Linked DNA regions of Homo sapiens: region 1 is linked to region 2. Evidence: promoter capture Hi-C in human tissues and cell types (Jung and others, 2019). All regions are on one chromosome and are shown on one strand. Each heading gives the region's core, a stretch centred on a gene start or on the middle of the fragment in contact. The rest is flanking DNA. Distances are from core to core; before and after follow the strand shown. Region 1 overlaps PDGFRB (platelet derived growth factor receptor beta). Region 2 holds the start of SLC6A7 (solute carrier family 6 member 7).

Evidence for each region. Contacts are between HindIII fragments. The study calls those that stand out against the background at their distance.
Region 1: a contact is called between a fragment that was not itself captured here and the fragment with the promoter of SLC6A7 in region 2, in 1 of the 25 tissues and cell types used here (mesenchymal stem cells).

Annotation. Positions count from the first base shown.
Region 1 is chr5:150,138,932-150,145,371 of GRCh38, reverse strand. All of the region lies in intron 1 of PDGFRB (platelet derived growth factor receptor beta), which reads left to right. Among named protein-coding and RNA genes, the nearest start is that of PDGFRB, 14 kb to the left of the region's middle. The HindIII fragment of the contact is 5,542 bases long and covers 988-6,440 here.
Region 2 is chr5:150,186,543-150,193,477 of GRCh38, reverse strand. SLC6A7 (solute carrier family 6 member 7) reads right to left here and starts at 3,416. Exons shown (of 14, transcript NM_014228.5): 1 at 3,118-3,416. The coding sequence starts at 3,150. RefSeq lists an enhancer at 6,648-6,935. The HindIII fragment of the contact is 16,922 bases long and covers 1-6,935 here.

The DNA.
Region 1 (6,440 bases), core at 2,509-5,008, 48 kb after region 2:
TGTATAGCTTTTGACTCCCCAAAAACTTAACTGCTAATAGCCAGCCTACTGTGGGCCTTACTGATAATGTAAAGTCAATTAACACATATTTTGTCTGTTATGTATATTATATACTATGTTCTTACAATAAAGTAAGCTAGATGAAAGAAAATCACAAGGAAGAGAAAATACATTCAGTTTATATTAAGTGGAAGTAGATCACTGAAAAAGTCTTCACCCTTGTCTGCACGTTAAGTAGACTGGGAAGGAGGAGGAAGAGGAAGGGTTGGCCTTGCTTTCAGGGGTGGCAGAGGCGGAAGAGGTGGAGGAGTGGAAGGGTGGGAAGGAGGTGGATGTTTCACATGTGTGGAACATTCACGTGTTAGTGGACCTGCACAGTTCAAACCTGTGTAGTTCAAGGGTCAACTGTACTAAATCAGAGGTAGCTATTATTATTATTGTTATTTTTAAGGCTGTTGGAGGCCCAGATGGGGCCGGGGTGGGTGGGGGGACTCAGGGCCAGGAATCCACAGGGCCCTGGGGGTAACCCTCAAGGCACCGCAGGAGGCAGGAAGTGCTTGCTCTGCAGCCGGTGGGCAGGGGTGTGCAGCAGGCCTCCCTCCCTCACTGACCTCCTTCTCAGGCTGCTTCCCAGCCTTCCTGGGGACCCAGGCCCCCTCCCTTGGGCCCCCAGCAGCCGTGAGGCACACACTGAGCGCTTTCCCACGCACTGTTCCAAGTAGCCAGCCGCATCGCTGCCCCCACCCCCAAGCACAGGCACTCTGACGGGTGAGGGGGTGTTTGCTGCAGGAGAGCGGGGCTCGGGCTGGGGAGATCAGCCCGTTCTTTATCAGCCTGGCCCCATTCCAGACAGATGTTTCATCTTATTTTGGACTTCCAGAAAATAGGTCATTTCTTTCCATTGTGTTCCCTGGGGAGGCCTCATGGGGAGAGGAGCATGCAGTGAGTGACGAGTGTGAGGGCCTGGCTTGGGCCCTGGGGAGCTGGAGGGGCAGCCGCCTTCCTCCCTCAGTTGTGAGGGAGCTGTCAGGGCCGGGCCGGAAGATTCTGAAAGGCTGGGCAGAGAAGCCAGCCTTTGCCTGAGGGGGATGGAGAGCAGAGGAGGGCCGGAGAGGTCACATAGGTATTTCAGAAAGGTCCCTCTGGCTGGGGTGTGAGAACAGGTGGAGGGGACAGATTGGAGGTGAGGAGATTGGCGGTGGGATAGCCAGAGGCAGCCGAGCCTGTGCTGGAGGAGGGGGTGCAGGGGGCTTAGCAGCCTTCCAGGGAACCAGCGCTATTCTTCCATCCAGTTTGGACTTCCAGAGCAGCGGGAGCACACGCCAGGCCCCATCTTAGTCGATTTCTGCTGCTTTGTTCAGGGGACTTTGTAGGTACCTGGAGAAACATAAAGAGGACCCCGGGCCTAGAAGCAGCGTGGCACAGAGAATGGCTCCAACACCGAGTGGGCTGCGCCGGGCTGCTCTCTTTCTGTAGCCCTTAGAGTGATCCCGAGGCTGGTGGGGAGGTTCGTGGTGCAGGGGTGGAGCACTGAGCCTTCTCCAACAACTGGAAGTGGAGCGAGCATAGGATTGAAGGGGGCGGGTGGGAGCCTCGGCCACTTCCCCAGTTTCTCCCCTCCACCTGTAACTGTCTCCTCACCCTCCGATCCTGCTCTCTTCTCTGGCTCCCAGGATGGGGCTCCCTGATCACATGACCCAATCACACCCACATCTCAGCCTGCTTGGGGACAGCCACATGGACCAGACTTGCCGCCAGGCCCAGGCTGTGCTGCTATCCCTTTCCTACTCTTTAGCTGCTGGCGGGAGGACTTCATCCCTGGCTCCAGATGCCTCTTGCCCCCACAGACTCCCAGGCCTGGAACTGGCAGCCTTCTCTGAGCTGAGTCATGACATGGGTCCCTCCCCAGCACCCCCACCCCGAGCCCAGCATTCCAGCTCAGCACAGCTGCCTTCCCAGAGTGGAGCCCTGAGGGCCACAGCATGTCAGCCCTGAAAGTGCTCCCAAGACACTCTTGCCCACCCTTTTGCACAGATAAGGAAACTGAGGCTCAGAGAGGGTCAGGACTGTACAGTAGTCACCCTTAGCTGCAGTTTCACTTTCTGAAGTTTCAGTTACCCCAGATCAACTGTGGTCCAAAAACATTAAATGGAAAATTCCAGAAATAAACAACTTACAAGCTTTAAATTTTGTGCTGTTCTGAGTAGTGTGATGAAATCTTGCACTGTCCTGTCTGTCCCGCCCAGGAGTGAATCATCCCTTTGTCCATATACGCTACCCACCTGTTAGTCATCAACAAAGTCCACTACTGACATCCAGCCATCAACACCATCATGGCTCGGTGGTCCAGGATCACTTGGAGCAGATGACCTGATCCTTCTGATAATGTCTGGAGGTCAGTAGTAGCCTAACGCTACTTCACAATTCTTACGCCATCACCTCACTTCCTCTTATCACGTAGGCACCGTGTCATTCCACGTCTTCACAAGAAGAGTGAACGATACAGTAAGATATTTTAAGAGAGAGAACACAGTCACATGACTTTTATTACAGTATATTTTTATCATTGTTCTATTTTATTATTATTGTTGTTCATCTCTTACTGTGCCTTATTTATAAATAAAACTTTATAATAGGTATGTATTTGCAGGGAAAAGAACATAGTATGTATGGGGTTTGGTTTTATCCAAAGTTTCAGGCATCTACTGGGGCCTTGGAATGTATTCCCTGCAGATAGGGGGGACCACTATCCTATAAGTGGGTGTCACAGCCGGGACTAGAGCCAGGTCTTCTTACTTCCCACCCCAACCCCCCTCCAAAGTCTGTCCCAGGCCTGTAAAGTGCCCCGGTACGGAGAACAGAAGACTGGACTGGGTCAGGAGACTGGAGTCTGTGGCTCACTTCTCCCAACAACTTAGCAAATTACCTCCTCTGAGTCTCAGTCGCCAATCCCTGCCTGGCTGGGCTCGTGCAGAGAATGTGACTTTGAAACAAAGGTCAATGTGTGGCAGGACAGAGGTGTGCTGTGGAGAGGGCAGGGGCAGCTATAGCCTGAAGCCTGGGGCCTTGAGCCACCAGCCTCACATCTTAGCAGGGGCTGGAGGCGGGGAGCTGCGCAGCCAGGTGAGCTTCAGCCCCACCGATCACCCGAGCCCATCTTGTCTAGGCCAAAACAATGGGCCCTCTTGCTTTCCTTCCCTAAGCCTCAGTTTCCCCACGAGCACAATGGAGCACAGGAAGGCAGTTAGATCAGATAGATGATCCCTGAGGGCTCTGGCGTGCTGACATTCCAAGACTCTGACCCCATAACCCCATGGCCAGGCCTCCTCCTCCCTCAGGCATTTGGTTTATTCAGAGCATCCCAGGCCTGAGACTGCCTGCCCCCAGCACCCCCCTCTCCCTGCAGCATGGCCCTCTCTCTCTCATCTCACTGCTGTTTCTACCCGGCCTGTTCCTGGCCTCCAGACTGAACATCCCACTGTCCCCTCAGTGCCCACAGACCCTCCCTATCCTAAACCTGCTCAGTTGCAGCTCTCACTCCTGCTCTTTGACCTCATTCTCATCTCAGAAAATGGCATCGTCCCCTCAGCACGTGCGCGTGTACACACACACACACATACACTTCTGCCTCCCAGTATTCCAAGCCAGATACAGAGGTGCATACCTCCCTCTCCAGCCCCTCAATATTAAGTCACCCAGTCCTGTTGATTCTCAGCTAAGTAACTCTCAAATCCATCTGTTTTTTTCAGTCCCCACTGCCTTCTCCCCAGACCCAACCAAACATGCACGTTGGTCAGAGAAGCGGTGGAGCTGGTGGCATAGAACACAGAGTCACACCACTTCACTTTAATCTCTGCTCTACCCCTTCTGGCTCTGTGTTCCTAGCCCAGTTATTAAATGCTCTCTGCCTCAGTTTCCCCACTGTAAAATGGAAATGATCACTGTATCTACCTCATAGAGTTGATGGAGAATCAAGTGAGCCAATACGTGCCAAATGCTCAGAATGGTTCCTGGTGCAGTAACACGGGCTTTCTGGCTTGTCTGTTCATGCATATGGCTGTGTGTTCAGGTGAATTTGGGGTTCTATGTGCACATGTTCTGTGCATGTTGTATGTGCTGCATACACATGTGAACTGTTGCACACGGGTGCATCTCCACGGGTGCTGGGCACAGTGGGAGCTGCGCACATGTGTTTTGTGTGGGTGTGTACATGTTTAGTACCTGCATGAGGGCTTGGCACCCACATGGCCTCTTGCATACGTATGTGTTTCAGAGGAGTGTGCGAGGAAGTGCGTAGGCAGGCATCTGTGCATCTGTGCTGTGTGTATGTGCTGACCATGTGCAGGCTCCCCCCATCAACCCCCGCAGCAATGCAGGGCCCCCTCCCTGGCCTGCCTGTGTCGTGGGAGCCTCAGGACCCTGAGGGAGGGAAGCTGTTGCTGGCGGATGTGGCCAAGATGGGCTGGATTTATTTAGATTAAGGCGGTGGGAAAGGAGTGGAGAATTGTACGTGCTGGGAGGAGGGAAGTCTGGGGCTCTGAGAATGACTCCCCAAGCATGCTTGCTCTCCTGGACTTGGGGCACCCACTCCTCTCCCCTGGACTTGGGGTCCTTACTCTGCTCCTTTGACTTGGGGTCCCCACTCTGCTTCCTTTTGACTTGGAGTTCCCAGTCTGCTCCCCTGGACTTGGGGTCCTTACTCCGCTCCCCTAGACTTGGGGCCCCCCACTCCTCTCCCCTGAACTTGGGGTTCCACTCTGTGCCCCGGACTTGGGGTCCTCACTCTGCTCCCCTAAGGGGTCCCTCTGAGTCACGTGAGGAGCTGGGCATGATCTCCACTTTGGGCCTCTGAGCCTACAACCTGGCCAGAATAGGAGGAATCAGGAGGGGTTCCTGGCACATAGCACTCTCTTCATGGGCAAAAGGGGGACACCTAGGGGTGCCCTCCCTCTCTCTGCTCTAGAGGCCTCCCTGGGCAGGAGAGTACAGCAGATAGGGGGAGTGCCTGCTCTCTGACTGTGACATCCAGCTTGTCCTAGGTGGCCCTTCCCTAGAGTACAGTCCTCCTAAAGAGGGGAAGTTGTCACAGGCAAGCCCACTACCACCAAGTCAGCTGCCTGGGCCTCCCTGGGATTGGCTGGAACCAGAACAGCCTCTGGGAAGCACAAAGAGGCCTAACACATTTGGTGGAAAATGTGGGGTATCAGGGAGTCATCCAGGATGGCCTGGGAAGTCATGTCTGGGTGCCCTAAGCCCTTCTCTGCCCTCCCTGGCCCTCCAGCCTCTTGTCCCTACCACTCTTTCCTTGCCACCTCCTGGGGTTCCACGTCACCAGCGGAAAGTCCCCTGAAACACTGTTGAAACACTGTTGTCTAACTTTTTTTTTTTTTTTTGAGACAGAGTCTCACTCTGTCACCAGGCTGGAGTGTAGTGGCGTGATCTCAGCTCACTGCAACCTCCGCCTCCTGGGTTCAAGCGATTCTCCTGCCTCGGCCTCCTGAGTAGCTGGGACTACAGGCACTTGCCACCATGTCCAGCTAATTTTTGTATTTTTAGTAGAGACGGGGTTTCACCATGTTGGCTAGGTTGGTCTCGATCTCTCAACCTCGTGATCCGCCTGGCTCGGCCTCCCAAAGTGCTGGGATTACAGGCATGAGCCACCATGCCCAGCCTTGGTCTAACTCTTAATTGTATAGATGGGGAAACTGAGGCCCAGAGAGGGAAACAACTTGTCAAAGCCCGCACAGCAAGTCTGTGGCTGAATAGTCATGGAAATTCCTTTCGTGGAATGAGATGGCTGGTGGATTCTTATGTGACTCTAGCCTCAGGAATGTAGCCCCCTCCTGCTTACTAGCCCCCACCTCCTCAAAACACCCCGGTAAGATTCGTGGTGACTAGAATCTTCTCTTTGGCCTGTCAGAAAGGCAGAGCTTCACCATAGGGACAGCTCTTTGAGATGACACCTGCCAACCTCTCTATATGGATGGGGACGCAGAGTTCAGAGAGGCTGGAGACTCGCTCAGTCTCACAGTGGGTCCCAGGGTGCTTATGAGGGGAGCTGATTGCTCTATTCATAGTAAAGCCAGTCCGAGATCCCTGGGGTGCCTACAACCTCCCTACGGCATCCACACTGCCTGCCTGTCCTCTCCCCACAGCTTGAATCTGCCTTTTTGCTGTGTGACTGGGGCATGCTTCTGTCCTTCTCTGGGCCTCTGCTGCCCATTCAAAAAGCATACCTCCTAGCTCAGAGTCTCTAAGCCACCCCCAGCCCCAGGCCCAGCAGAAGAGAGCCTGAAGGGGAGAGGATGGAGTGCCACATGGGAGGAGGGTCGGGGGCTGCATGCCATGAAGGCCCAGCCCACATAGCCAGCCCAGCCTTCCAGAGCCAGGCCAGCCCCGCTGCAGTGACCTCCCTTCTCCTGGCCAGCCGGCCAAATTCC
Region 2 (6,935 bases), core at 2,167-4,666:
CACCAGGCAAGGTAGGGAGAGCCTGAGGGCTGGGTGAATTTTGTGAATTTTGGCTCATGAGCAGGAAGAAGGTACTTAAGCCGTGATCTGTGTCAGAAAGTCATAATCTTGCTGTCCCTGGAGAGGAGATGCATGCCCAGAGGGGAGCGGAGGCCAGCTGTTCCTAAGGTCTCCTTTCATGCTTCAAAGTGGGTGAGAGGTCCATGGGGCATTCTCCCTTAGGAGACCCTCAGTGATGGTGACCACAGTGGTGATTTTGCCAGAAACTGGCTATTGGCCACAGGGGCCGTGGTGACAGGAACAGCCAGACATTATTATGGGTGACGATGACAATGACAGAGCATGAAGAGCTGTTTTTAAAGTAACTAGGCTGCAAGGGGTGAAACAAATACATGCCTGGAAGTTCTTTAGCTGTGATCATGGACATGCTGAGGTGACAGGAGCAGCAGATCCCAGACTTAAGTGAAACCCACCCTTCCCCTCCAATGCCCCGTTCCCTGAGGCTGCCTCTCCAGCTGGGTGAGCATCAGCCTTCAGCAACCTCTCACCCCAGGTGAGCTCCGGGAGGAATGGTTGCCACTGTTCCTGGTGTTGGGTGGTGAGCAGGCCTGTTACCCTGAGACACCCCCCGCCCATCCCAGCACCATTCAGGCCAGTTAGCAGGAGGTCCCAGTAATGAGGATCCTCTGATCCCTCCAGAGAAGCTGCCCTTTCCATGCTCATGGAGCGGTCCCGGTTCTCTGTTTCCATGGTGACTAGAGTTCCAAGAGCAGGATGCTGCCAGCTCGTCCCCCTCCTCCCCCAATCAGAGGGAAGCCTGCTTCTGCTCCAGGGGCAGGAGATAGGGTCCTCCAAAGCTGAGCCAATCAGGAGCCCAACTGGAGTTCCCAACCCCACCATGGGGTGAATCCCAGGAGGCTGGCACAGTGAGGATGGGGCTGGTTGGGAGATGGAAGAAAGCAATCAAATAGCTGGGGCAGGGCTGGAAGCTGAATGAGTTGCTTCATACTTCTTCCTGGGTGTAAGCCTCCCACTCCTGAATCTCCCACTCCCTACCCCAGGGGCATGCAGGAACACACAGCTGAGTTTGTCAGACCTGCATGCTCGCCTTTAGGGACTCACAGCAGGGGCTGGGAGACTCAAGACTGCCCAAGCCAAGACTCTTCAGGACAGAGAGAGACAATAGGAATCTGGGGTCCAGCTTCATCATTGTGCAGATTAGGAAACCAAGTTTCAGGAAGAAGGGATGAGCCCAAGGTCAAACAGCAAGTTAAAGGCACAGCAAGACTTGGACCTAGATCCCCTGACTCTAAGTCCAGTGTTCATCTCTGAGCAATGCTGCTCCTTTGCGGAAATCTGGCATTTTCTCATTCCCGCCCAATTCTGCTTGAGAAAAGGGAAAGGACCCTGAGAGGAGGTAGCAACCTAGAACCAACCCTCTGCCCTGTTGGCTCTAGGTTGCCTAGCCTGCCAGCAGGTAAGCAGTGAGTCTCACCCCTCTGTGCCTCAGTTGCCTTATTTATAAAGTGGGGCTACTAAGACCTAGCCCCTGGAAGTGTTAAAGGATTAAATGAGATAAAGCTTGCTAACCCCCCAGCCCAGCACCCAGCAAGAGGGACAGGGCCTCTTGTGGGGAGGGAGGGCAGAGAGGGAAGAGAAGGAGAGTGGAAAAGAATGGAAACAGGACCCAAGAGACTCACAAATGGTCTCAAGAAGTCACTCATGTCAGTGAATAAAAAAGACATACCAGCTGGGCGCAGTGACTCACACCTGTAATCCCAGCACTTTGGGAGGCCGAGGCGGGCGGATCACGAGGTCAGAAGATCAAGACCATCCTGGCTAACACGGTGAAACCCCGTCTCTACTAAAAATACAAAACATTAGCCAGGCGTGGTGGCGGGCGCCTATAGTCCCAGCTACTCGGGAGGCTGAGGCAGGAGAATGGCGTGAACCCGGGAGGCAGAGCTTGCAGTGAGCCGAGATCACACCACTGCACTCCAACCTGGGTGACAGAGCGAGACTCCGTCTCAAAAAAAAAAAACAAGAAAAAGAAAAAAGACACACCACAGTGGTTCCAAGCCCAGCTGCCCCAGAGCAGAGAACTTGAATGAATGAGTGTGTGTGTGAGTGAGTGTGAGTGTGAATGTGTGTGTATGTAGGGAGGTTGATAACACCAGCCCCTGAGAACAGTCTTCTCACATCTACCAGCCCTTTAGCATTCTTCCCCACACCTCACACACCCAGTGGGGCCTGTTTTGGTGCCTCCAGGCTAGGGCTTAGCCAGAGGAGGTTCAGGTTAGAGAATGAACTTGTCCAAAGTCACCAGGCAAGTGGCAGCGGCAGAAATAGTATTCAGGAGATCTGACTCCTTAGTTAGGACTGGTACAAGCCAGAAAACGTCCCCCAGTATTCCCCCTCCCCATATCCTGACAGCTTGGCTGAGAGGTCCAATCCCACAAGGCAAGGTAGGGAGAGCCTGAGGTCTGGGCCCACAGCCACTCTCCCATACCAGCTTCCATCTTCATTGATCATATCCTCCTGCCTCCGATAGCCCCCTCCCTGTCTTTGCCTCCCTTCAGCCCTGCTGAGGGGCAGCCTGGGGTCTCAGCAGGCAAGCTAAGGGGGCGGGGAGGGAGCAGGCAGGAAAGAGGAGAGTCTTCCCGCAGGCTCAGGGAGCCGGCTTCAGTATGGATGACCGCCTCCCACTCCCCACCCCTCAGATGAGTCCAGCTCAACGCTCAGGTATTCCAATACCCCCCACACCCGGCAATCAGCTCCTGGCGGGGAGCAGCAGGGTGGAATTGGGGAAGAGGTGGGTGCCTGGCCCCGGCCGCCCCTACCCCGCGCCTCCGGGGACTGCAGACACCTGTTCATAGGCCTGGCCCAGTGAACCAGGACTCCCCTCATACTACATCCCGAACCCCAGATGGCAGGGGCAGAGGTGGGGGCGCAGACCGTGACCCTGACCCTCCCTGTTATCCAGCTGAGTCGGGCCTTCCCCAGAGCCCGAAGCTGGTCTGGGTGCATCCTCAGACCTTCCCCAGGGGCCTCGTTGGGGGCGGGTCTCTCCAACCCTCCTCCAGGTGCACCCCCAGCGCCCCCGCCCTCGTGCCCTACCTTGCGGAGGTGAGCTCCCTGGAGCTTCTTCATCTTGGAGAGCGGGTGGCCGGGGCTCAGCTGCCCCGGAGCGCAGAGAGCGAGGGCACGAGAGATGGTCCGCTGGCCACTGCGCCTTTGCCCCCGCGGCTCCCGCGCACCGGCTGGGGCGGGCACGGACGCAGGCGCTGCCGTCTGGCGGCTGCGGGCGTGGAGCGCGGGCAGGGCGCTGCGAATGCCTTGTCTGTCCCTGCGCAGCGCCCGAGGCTGGGGAAGGGTGCACTGCTGCGCCCGCATAGACACCCAGACAGACAGCTGACGGACGGACGGCGGGGGGATGCGCGCGCCCCCGCACGCAGAGCTGCGGATTGGAGAGCCCTGAGCGAGTGGGGAGGGGGGTTCGCGACGGAAACCCTCGGCTTTCTGCGTGACCTTGGGCAAGCGACCTGCCCTCTCTGGGACTCCCTTTCCACAGTTGGGCAAGGAACACTAACAGCCCACCCCCCTGCGTCGTCTTTGCTGTGCGACCTTAGGGGATAAGAATCTCTCCTCTCTTACAGGAGTGTGAGCAATTCAGGAAGATGGAGCATAGAAAACATCTAGCACAAAGAGCCTGACACATAGTAGGTGCTCAGTTAACATTTATTCACTGACTGTGGGTTGCCCACGCCACCATTAGTCCAATTATTCAATCTATCAGTATTTATTGAGCACCTAAAATGTGCCAGGTCCTGAACTAGGTGTCCTATTTTCTCAACCTGGAGAGACAGGTGTCGTTACTCCTATTCTACAGATGAGGAAGCTGAGGGACAGGGAAGTTAAGTTACTTACTCAAAGTCACGGGGCTAATGAGTGACACCAGGGACAGAGTCAGGCTTCATGGACCTTTAGGCTAGTAGAGTCTTCAACTCTCCTCCTTTCCTTAAGATGAAAGCAAAATGGGGAGGTTTGGGTGAGCAGAAGGGACAGGCAAGTGCCACAGTGTCACTGTGATCTGTGACTTAGATGATTAGTAACTGGTTTCCTGTCCAGCAGCAGTATGGCTTCTGGAAAGTTCTAATTTCATATCTGTAAAATGGGCCACGAGCCGCCCATGCATTGTTGCCTCAGAATGTTCTGAGGGTCCAGTGAGCCTGTGGCTAGGATGGGAAATGATGAGCTGGAGCAATGGCACACGTTGGTTTGCTGGGACTGACTGATAGACACTAGCGGATCAGTATATACATTACAAATTGTGTCCTTTTCACCCTCGCAAGTGTCCCAGTTTAGACATTAACCATACATCTGTTTGGCTCACTATCAGTTGACACGGTGGGAGGCCTTTGGGGAGAGATGAGAATAAGGTTCTGCTCTCTCCCACCTCTGGAGCTTGAAAAAAGGTTGGAGGGGTTTAAGTCAAAGCATGGACTTGGGTAAAGGCCTGGCCAGGCTCCAGTCCACCCCTTCCCCTGCCCAGGTCCTGTCAAACTTCTCTCCCCTTTGAGCCTGGCCACAAAGGGCAAACCAGGGGCTCTCCAGACCCAGGAGGAAGGTGTCTCCTCTGCCCCCTGCCTGCTGACCCATATGGGGCCAAGAGTGGCTGTGAGTGTGAAGAGAAGGAGCATTTATGGAGCCCTACTGTGTGCATTATGAAGGATTTTTGCATCCAACATCTAATTTTTAATTCTTTCCAACTGTCTGGGAAGACATGTTTGTGCATCTCATTTTACACCTGTGGAAACTGTCCCAGAGGAGTGAAGTCATGCACTGGGCGTTGGGGATGAAGCCAGGAAAGCTGTGGGTCATGGCTGGGAAAGGCAGAAGCCAAGGGCTCCTGAATCCAAGGAGGCCCAGGCAGGAAACTTCCCCATCCCTCACCCAAGGCTTGTCAATGCATCTTGTACAAAAGAGGCTCAACCTTGCTCAACCACTCCCTCCCATTGGCACTTGGGTTTCATGAGACCCTTTGGAAGGCACAGAGGGCCACAGGGACAGCGAGCAGGGATGAGGCAGTTGGCTCAGGAGCCAAGAAGACTGGCCTCTTTATGACCCTTCCTAGCAGCACCTGCTCCTCCCACTTCACGGACCCAGCCCTGGGGGAGAAGAAGGGAGTGGACCAGGGCTTTAGCTTCCCTTGAGCAGACACATCAGGGGGTGACCACTGAGCCACTGTGGCAGTCACTGGGACTGTGAGGTGCAAATGGATCTAGGCCCATGCCTTTCAGATAGGGAAACTGAGACCCAGAGGGGCAGGATTTGCAAAATCACTCAGTGATTCAGTAAAGACAGGATCATGTCTATAACCTAGGAGTCTGACCTCACCCAGGCTCTGCCCTCTAGCTCATACCTCTCTGCCACCATCACCTCCATCCCCACAGCCCTGGTGGGGAAAGTCTGCCCTTTCATAAAACAAACAAAACTCAAAGATTTTCTTTTCTTTATTTTTTTGAGAGAGATCTTGCTCTATTACCCAGGTTGATGTGCAGTGGCTCCATCTCGGCTCACCACAACCTTCGCTTCCTGAACTCAAGCTACCCTCCCACCTCAGCCTCCCAAGCAACTGGGACTACAGGTGTGTGCCACCATGACTGGCTAATTTTTGTATTTTTTTGTAGAGACAGGGTCTTGCTATATTACCCAGGCTGATCTTGAACTCTTGAGATCAAGGGATCTTTCTGCCTCTGCCTCCCAAAGTGCTGGGATTACAGGCATGAGCCACTGTGCCCAGCCAAAACTCCAAGATTTTCTAAAAGACATTATCCACATAAATCAATCTACCCACTGAAGCTCCAATTTTATGATCATACAACTGGCCAGGAGTCTGGCAACCAAGCACATTTGACAATTGCTGTCACCACCATCTCCTCTCCCCCATTCCAGAGGGGGTTTGATTCATGGCAAAATGACTGCTTAGGAATCCAAATGGTAAATATTCACTCTCCCTTTCCCCCTTCTCTCCCTGTTGTGGTCTCATATCAAACCAGAAGTGCAATGGAGATGTGTGTGTGTGATTTAAGGAAAGTGTCAGATGAACTGTACTTCCTTTTATTATATAGGGAGATATTTTTAAATGTATATAAATAAACATTTTTAATTTGCTTAAATATTCAGATTTTATCACTGTAGAGCATGTGTTTTGTCACACTAGGGAGTGACGACTGTAAAAAACAAGGTTCCAGGCTGCTAGTCCATCTGGAGTGGTTCAGAGGAAGTGATCCCAGAGCTGCCTGGTTGGAACGGGATTGCCCTCCAAAGCTGCCCTGGCGGAGGCTGGCTGTGCTCCCCAGCTCTGCATCCCTCTGGCAGATCATCTCAAACACTCAGAGCCGGGCTGATTTCCTCAGAGCTCCACAGTCCTCCTGTTCTAACCCTTGTACCCCTATCACAGCCCATTACACACACACAGACACACACACACACACACACACACACCCTTGACTGCTGGAGCCCTCCTCAGAACACTCCATTCCCCACCAAGTCCCTCCCTAGAGTAGTGCTGCAACTGTTCTGCTCGGTCCACACCAATCTCTCGGCAATCAATGATGGGATTGGCTTTTCCATAAGACAGGTTCTCAGCCCAGGGTTAGGAGTCTATGGACTCCCTGAAATTGTATGTAAACAGTGTTGACATGCACAATTCTGATTTGCTAGAAGACGTAAGCAGTCTGTGGGCCTTGGAGGGCCAGCACAAAGTCACTGTACGCAAAGCAGCATGGGCCATTCCTGATACGAGAGCTGAACACCTCTTACCCCTGGGGTGGCTGTAAGATTTGACTAGACTTGAAGGGTCTCTTTCCTAAGCCATTACAACACCCCAATCTCTGGTGGAACTCTGGGTGACAGGGAACTCACCAGGCACA